2 separate regions of the Homo sapiens genome follow, and region 2 is linked to region 1. The links are contacts of gene promoters, found by promoter capture Hi-C in blood cells and fetal thymus (Javierre and others, 2016). All regions are on one chromosome and are shown on one strand. The core of a region is centred on a gene start or on the middle of the fragment in contact, and the rest is flanking DNA. Distances in the headings are between cores, read along the strand shown.

Region 1 (3,935 bases), core at 665-3,164:
ACTCTGTCTCAAAAAAAAAAAAAAATTGTGTCTGTTTCCCCATTAGTTTGTCATTAACTAAGACATTTTCTCCCCAAATTTCTTTTTTTTTTTTTTTTTGAGACGGAGTCTTGCTCAGTTGCCCAGGCTGGAGTGCAGTGGTGCGATCTCGGCTCACTGCAAGCTCCGCCTCCCGGGTTCACGCCATTCTCCTGCCTCAGCCTCCCGAGTAGCTGGGACTACAGGCACCTGCCACCACGCCTGGTTAATTTTTTTTTTTGTATTTTTAGTAGAGATGGGGTTTCGCCGTGTTAGCCAGGATGGTCTCGATCTCCTGACCTCGTGATCCGCCCACCTCGGCTTCCCAAAGTGCTGAGATTACAGGCATGAGCCACCGTGCCCGGCCCCCAAATTTCTTACAGGAAATTTCTAAAGTAGACTAGAGTCCGCAGTATTTGAGCCCTGCATACCTCTCACCTGATTTCAACAACATCAGCTGCAGACTGCCCGACATTGTCTCCTCTATCCCCCTTCTCTCATACTTTTTCTTCTGGGTATTTTGAAGCACATTCTAGATGCCAAGTCACTTGCCTGTAAATACTGGAGCACACATTTCTCTGAGTGATAAGCACATTGTTTTAAAGCAGTCAGGAGGTTGTGCAATGTCATCCATCTCCCAGCAGCAGAGTTCACACATCCACACGCAACCTCCTGCTGCTTTATAGATGAAGGTGCCAGGTGAGGACATGAAAAGAATTTGCATTAAACATCAACTGACAAGCTTTTTTTTTTCTCCTGCCCTCTGTGCCGTTGGCACAACCCACCAAATTCAATCAAGTTCTTCTATATCTTCCAATACCCAGTCTGTGTCAAATGTCTCTGATTATCTGAGAACATCGTTTTATGTTGTTTGTTTTATTTTAAGAGACAGGGTCTCACTCTGTTGCCCAGGCTGGAGTGTAATGGCACAATCTCGGCTCATTGCAACCTCTGCCTCCTGGGTTCAAGCTATTCTCCTATCTCATCCTCCTGAGTAGCTGGGATTACAGGCACCCATCACCATGCCCAGCTAATTTTTGTATTTTTGCATTTTTAGTAGATGGGGTTTCACCATATTGGTCAGGCTGGTCTTGAACTCCTGACCTCAGGTGATCCACCCGTCTCAACCTCCCAAAGTGTTGGGATTACAGGCGTAAGCCACTGCACCCACCCTTGTTTGTTTTGTTTTAAGAGACAGGGTTTTGCTCTGTTGCCCAGGCAGGAATGCAGTGGTGCGATCATAGCTCGCTGAGGCCTCCAACTACTGGGCTCAAACGATCCTCCAACCTCAGCCTCCCAAATAGCTAGGACTAACACTACCACTAGTAGTAACTATGCTTAACTAATTTTTTTATTTTTATTTTTTGTAGCGACGGGGTCTCACTGTGTTGCCCAGGCTGATCTTGAACTCCAGGGTTCAAGCAATCTTCCCATCTCAGCCTCCCAAAGTGCTGGGATTACAGGTGTGAGCCACCAATGCCCAGCCCTAATTTTTGTATTTTTAGTAGAGAAGGGGTTTCACCATGTTGGCCAGGCTGGTCTCGAACTCCTGACTCAGGTGATCGCCCCCTCGGCCTCCCAAAGTGCTGGGATTATAGGCGTGAGCCACCACGCCTCGCCTGTCTCAAAAATAAATTAATTAAATTAAATATTTCAAAATACAGAAAAGTTGGAAGACAATACAGCGAACACCTGAACACCCACCACATATTATAGATGCTGCTAGTCACACTGCCCCAAACTTTTTTAAAACTTGCATTTCCCCAGTGATGCTTCCCTGACGGGGTGTGGCTTCACGGGCTCTGCCCGACGGGCCGTCCTCCCTCTGTCTCCCCAGTACCTGGTGCTCATGCTCATCGTCTACATCTTCGAGTGCGCCTCCTGCATCACGTCCTACACCCACCGTGACTACGTGAGCCCGGCGAGGCCTGGGGAGGGGCCTGACCTGCATGGGAGGGGCGAGGGTCCCGGCGCGGCGGGGCGGAGGTCGTCCTCTCTCCCCACCCAGCCCTGCCGGCCCTTGTTCTTCCCTGTTCTCCTCAGATGGTGTCCAACCCATCCCTGATCACCAAGCAGATGCTGACCTTCTACAGCGCGGACACCGACCAGGGCCAGGAGCTGACCCGCCTCTGGGACCGCGTCATGATTGAGGTGGGCGGGGTGGACCGGGTGCTGGGAGGGCCCTGGGCTCCGTCCACAGAGGCCGATAGAGCTCCCGATGTGCCAGCTTTTAGAGGAGTGAGTGCCTTAAAGACATCCGCTCATGAGATCTCTAGGAGAGCAGGGCTGCGGTCATCACCGTTCTGCGGATGAGTAAACAGGCCCAGAAAGGGAAAGTCCCTTGCCCGAGGCCACACAGTCGGTAAGTGGTGGGAGCTGGGATTGGAACCCGGCAGCCTAGCTCCTGACCTCCCTGCTCTTAGCCTACACATACTACCTCAACAGAAATGTTGATAATAACAATGATAGTAACAGCACCATTCACTGAGCTAGGTTTCACACTGTTCAAAGGACTTTTATTTTTATATTTTGAGATGGGGTCTTGCTCTGTTGCCCAGGCTGGAGTGATCATAGCTCACTGCAACCTCCAACTCCTGGGCTCAAGTGATCCTCCCGCCTCAGCTTCCCGAGTAGCTGGGAATACAGGTGCGCCCCACCACACCCGGCTAAGTTTTTTAAATTATCTTTTGTGGAGATGGGGGTCTTGCTCTATTGCCCAGGCTGGTCTGGAACTCCTGGGCTCAGGATTGGAGCGATTCTCCCACCTCCGCCTCTCAAAGTGCCGAGATCACAGGCATGAGCCACGAGTGCCTGGCCTCAAAGCACATTTTTTTTTTTCTTTTTATCTTTTTTTTTTTTTTTTTTTTTTTGAGACAGAGTCTTGCTCTGTCGCCCAGGCTGGAATGCAGTGGCGCGATCTCGGCTCACTGCAAGCTCCGCCTCCCGGGTTCACGCTATTCTCCTGCCTCAGCCTCCCGAATAGCTGGGACTACAGGCGCCTGCCACCGCGCCCAGCTGATTTTTTGTATTTTTAGTAGAGATGGGTGTTAGCCAGGATGGTCTTGATCTCCTGACCTTGTGATCCACCTGCCTCGGCCTCCCAAAGTGCTGGGATTACAGGCTTGAGCCACCGTGCCCAGCCTTTCAAAGCACTTTTAAAGCTTTTTTAATCCTCACGACCACTCCATAAGGGAGATCGGCCTTTTAGTGATGAGGAGACCAAAGCAAGAGGTTGAATATCTTGCATGAGGTCACACACCTGGTAGGTCACAGAACTGGAAGGATTCAAACTCAGACTTCCAGGTTTGAAGAGATACAGTCTTCCTCAAATCCAACATGATATTGCACTGGAAAAGGAAGAAATTGGCTGGGTGCAGTGGCTCAAACCTATAATCCCAACACTTTGGGAGGCAAAGGCGGGCAGATCACTTGAGTTCAGGGGTTCAAGACCATCCTGGCCAACATGGTGAAACCCTGTCTCTACAAAAAATACAAAAATTAGTCAGGTGTAGTAGTGTGCGCCTGTGATTCCAGCTACTTGGGAGGCTGAGGCAGGAGAATCACTTGAACCCAGGAGGGGGAGGTTGCAGTGAGCCAAGATGGCGCCACTGTACTCCAGCCTGGACAACAGAGGGAGACTCCGTCTCAAAAAAAAAAAAAAAAAAGAAGAAGAAATTGAGGACTCAAGGAAAACTGAGGCGTCAATGTGGCCCAAGTCCTCTAGCTAGCCAGGATTTGAACCCATGTTTGAAGGGTGCCCAAGCCTATGTTTTCCTCATTCAGGAGCCACAAATTAAACACCTGGATTCCTTACCAAGGCCAGGAAAAGCCAGAAATCTGCCCTTTTTGTGTTATTTTATCAGCATAGTTGTTGATAAAAATATTTTATTTTATTTTATTTTTTGAGATGGAGTTTC
Region 2 (3,935 bases), core at 805-3,304, 130 kb after region 1:
ACACCACTGTGCCTGGCTTGGTGCCAGTTAAGCTGATGGTACACAAACGTGCCCTGGAGCCCCTGCAGATCTTGGACATGAGCCTGGATTCCAAGCGTGGCTAGGCCACCTGCTCTGTAGCCTGGCTGAGTCCCTGTGGCCCCCAGAGAAGGTACCAAGAAGTAAAGATCTAAGGAGGTGAGGGATGGGGCCATGCCACTGTCTGCAGTGGGAATGTCCCAGGCAGTGGAAACAGGATGTGCCAAGCCCCTGGGTAACATGGAGGAGGCCAGTGTGGCTGTAGTGGAGTGAGGGAGAGGAAGAGAGGGAGGGAAAGTTAGGGAAGTGACAGGGAGCATGTGGGGCTTAGAGGCCACTGTAAGGATTTCTTTTTGTTTTGTTTTGTTTGTTTGTTTGTTTGTTTGTTTGTTTTGAGACAGATTCTCGCTCTGCTGCCCAGGCTGAAGTGCAGTGGTGCAGTCATGGCTCACTGCAGCCTTGAACTCCTGGCCTCAAGTGATCCTCCCACCTCAGCCTCCTAAGTGGCTGGAACCACAGGCATGTGCTACCACACCTGACTATTTTTAAAATTTTTTAGAGATGGGGTCTCCCTGTGTTGCCCAGGCTGGTCTCCAACTCCTGCTCTCAAGTGAATCTCTAGCCTCAGCCTCCCAAAGCACTGGGATTACAGGTATGAGCCACTGCACCCAACCACTAGGTGTTATTATTTCCTGCAGAGGCCAGCTGGCCCGGGCCTACCTCTGACTGGTGGCCTCATAGTCAGGCTGAGTGGGGTCTTCCATCCCATGGAGCTGGGCCACCGCTCTCTCCTTGTCCAGATATGCACCTCGTACCAGCTTCACTCCGAAGGCCAGGCCGGCCCTGTGCGCAGCCTCTGCATCCCTCCCCAGCCGCTCGAATGTGTCCTATAGGGCACGCAGGCAGGTTCTGGTAGGTCAGGGTGTGGGGACCCCAGCCTGTACCTCCTGGAACACACTGCACACCTTTAGACAGGCCTGGTAGGTGTTCCACACCCAGGGCCCGCCTTCACCCGGGCTGTTCCAGCGCACAGCCAGGGCAGCCACCAGCAGCGAGAGCGCAGGGTTCAGTGAGGTGTACTCCGCATCCACCAGGAGCCGCACGTGCTGGGCCCGGGCATACTGATGGCGACAGAGACGACGGTCAGGGCCCCGGGTGTCCAGCAGGGGCAGTGGAGCCAGATCCCAGCAGGAGGGGTTACCTGTGCCACCCGATGCAGGCGGCTGAGGGAGGCCCGGAGGTGCTGGTTCCAGCAGGAGGGGTTACCTGTGCCACCCAATGCAGGCGGCAGAGGGAGGCCCGGAGGTGCTGGTTCCAGCAGGAGGGGTTACCTGTGCCACCCGATGCAGGCGGCTGAGGGAGGCCCGGAGGTGCTGGTTCTGCTCAGCATTGAGGCAGGAGACCTGGAGGTTCTAGGGGGCAGCAGGGGAAGTGGGGAAAAGCTTATAAGTTGCTAGAAATCTAAAAATGAGCAATATCAGTTAGGTACTATTTATTGAGGGGGTTATGAGCCTAGAATCAGGGCTCGAATCCAGGCTTCACCACCTACTGTGTGACCTTGGGCAAGTTATGTAACCTTTCTGGGCCTCAGTTTTTGTTTGTTTGTTTTTTGAAACAGAGTCTTGCTCTGTTGCCCAGGCTGGAGTGCAGTGGCATGATCTCAGCTCACTGCAACCTCTGCCTCCTGGGTTCAAGTGATTCTCCTGCTTCAGCCTCCCGAGTAGCTGGGATTACAGGCGCCCGCCACCATGCCCGGCTAATATTTGTACTTTTAGTAGAGACAGGGTTTAACCATGTTGGCCAGGCTGGTCTCGAACTCCTGACCTCAAGTGATCTGCCCACATCGGCCTCCCAAAGTGCTGGGATTACAGGTGTGAGCCACCGTGCTCAGCCCTCCCTGCTACTCTTTGAACACGAGGGCACCTTCCCACCTCCAGCCCTTTACCTGCTCCCATGTTTCCTTCAAGTATTTGCTCTAATGTCACTTTCTCAACATGGTTTTCCCACCTATACATTGGCAACTTCTTTTCCTCTTCCTCAGCCTTATTTTCCCTTACTTGTTACGTACTGACTTTTGTTTTGCTGAGACGGGGTCTTGCTGTGTTGCCCAGGCTGGAATGCAGTGGCACGATCATGGCTCACTGCAGCCTCCACCTCCCCAGCTCAAGCAATCCTCCTGCTTCAGCCTTCCAAGTACCTAGTACCACAGGCACCCACCACCATGCCGGGCTAATTCTTTACTATTTGTAGAGTCAAGGTCTTCCTATGTTGCCCAGGCTGGTCTCAGTCTCCTGGACTCAAGCGATCCTCCCACCTCAGCCTTCCAAAGTGCTGGGATTCTGACTTTGGTTTTAATTATTGTCTCTTGCCCCTGACTTGCAAGTAAGTGCCTCGAGGTCAGGGATTTTGCCTTCATGCTTCCTCGGCCCCTAGCACCGTGTCTGGAACAAGATAGATGTTCAGCAAACACTTCGGGAGTGGATATGCTTGTAACATGGAAATAAGAACCGTTTCTAACTCACAGTCTTATGCAGATTCATCTGGCTGAATGTGAGCTGCTGGTGACTCCAGGGAGTCTGGCTGGGTTCAAAGAAGTTGGGAAATGGAAGAAAGAGGAACAGGTGGGGCTGAAAGCTTTATTATATCCAACAGGGTCGATACAGATGACATAGGCCTGGGCTTGCTCATGGAATCCCACCTGGAGGCAGGTTGGGCTGGAAGCTGCAACCTTCCGCATGGTGGGGAGAATGCTGCCTCCTGGAGAAGGGAAGACCTGGAGGCAGCAGCCTGGTTTCCTCCTCCCCTGTCAGAGGATTGTCTCCTGCTTGACTTGGGGCGTAGTCTTAGGCCCTCAGGGAGCTATTTCAGACACCCACCAAATATTTAACTCATTTAATATTTACCACTCTCTAATGTACCAACTGTTATTATCCCCCCATTTTCTAGATGGGGAAACTGAGGCACAGAGCAGGGAAGTCACTTGTCAAAAGTCACACAGCTAACTCAGGGCAGACCTGAGGTTTAAACCTCAGCCTTTCCAGAGCCTGGGTCTTTCTCTCTTTTCTCCCTCCCTCCCTCCTTCCCTCCCTTCCTTCCTTCCTTCTTTTTTTTTTTTTTTTGAGATAGATCTCACTCTGTCTCCCAGGCAAGAGTGCAGTGGTGCAAGTTCAAGTGATTCCCCTGCCTCAGCCTCCTGATTAACTGGGGCTACAGGCACGTGCCACCACTTCTGGATAAGTTTTATATTTTTAGTAGAGATGGGGTTTCACCATGTTGCCCAGGCTGGTCTCAAACTCCTGACCTCAAGTGATCCAGCCCCACTTAGCCTCCCAAAGTGCTGGGATTACAGGTGTGAGCTACAGCACCTGGCCCTTTTTTCTTTCTTTCTTTATTTCTTTCTTCCTTCCTTCCTTCCTTCCTTTCCTTCCTTCCTTCCTTCCTCCCTCCCTCTCTTTCTTTCTTCGCTCTCAAACTTGCCAGCTCAAGCAATCCTCCCACCTTAGCCTCCCAAGTAGCCAGGATTACAGGTGCCTGCCACCACACCCAGCTAATTTAAAGGAATTTTTTGTAGAGATGAGGGTTTACTATATTACTCAGGTTGGTATTGACCTCCTGGGCTCAAGCGACCCTCCTGCCTTAGCCTCCACACCAGGTGTGCACCAGCACACAGGCTGATTTTTTAATTTTTTTGTAGAGATGAGATCTCACTATGTTGCCCAGGCAGGTCTCAAACTCCTGGGCTCAAGTGAGCCTCCAATTTCAGCCTCCCAAAATGCAGATTACAGGCATGAGGCACTGCACCCAGCCTGTTTTAATCCTTAAAACCACTGAGAAGTTGCTGTCACTCTCCCTACAGGAATAAACTAAAGCTCATGAAGAGGTGAACTCCTTACTCTCCAAAGCTGATTTTCTGAACC

Evidence for each region. The method cuts DNA at HindIII sites, captures the fragments that hold promoters and counts their contacts. A CHiCAGO score of 5 or more calls a contact.
Region 2: a contact is called between a fragment that was not itself captured here and the fragment with the promoter of UPK1A-AS1 in region 1, in 1 of 17 cell types (M2 macrophages). The highest score is 5.8, in M2 macrophages.

Annotation. Positions count from the first base shown.
Region 1 is chr19:35,671,377-35,675,311 of GRCh38, forward strand. UPK1A-AS1 (UPK1A antisense RNA 1) reads right to left here and starts at 1,915. Exons shown (of 2, transcript NR_046420.1): 1 at 1,859-1,915. It overlaps UPK1A (uroplakin 1A), which reads left to right. Exons shown (of 8, transcript NM_007000.4): 4 at 1,856-1,930; 5 at 2,062-2,169. The HindIII fragment of the contact is 2,419 bases long and covers 759-3,177 here.
Region 2 is chr19:35,805,692-35,809,626 of GRCh38, forward strand. It overlaps PRODH2 (proline dehydrogenase 2), which reads right to left. Exons shown (of 10, transcript NM_021232.2): 5 at 1,350-1,430; 6 at 984-1,139; 7 at 739-905. Among named protein-coding and RNA genes, the nearest start is that of PRODH2, 5.2 kb to the right of the region's middle. RefSeq lists an enhancer at 1,242-1,742. The HindIII fragment of the contact is 1,192 bases long and covers 1,459-2,650 here.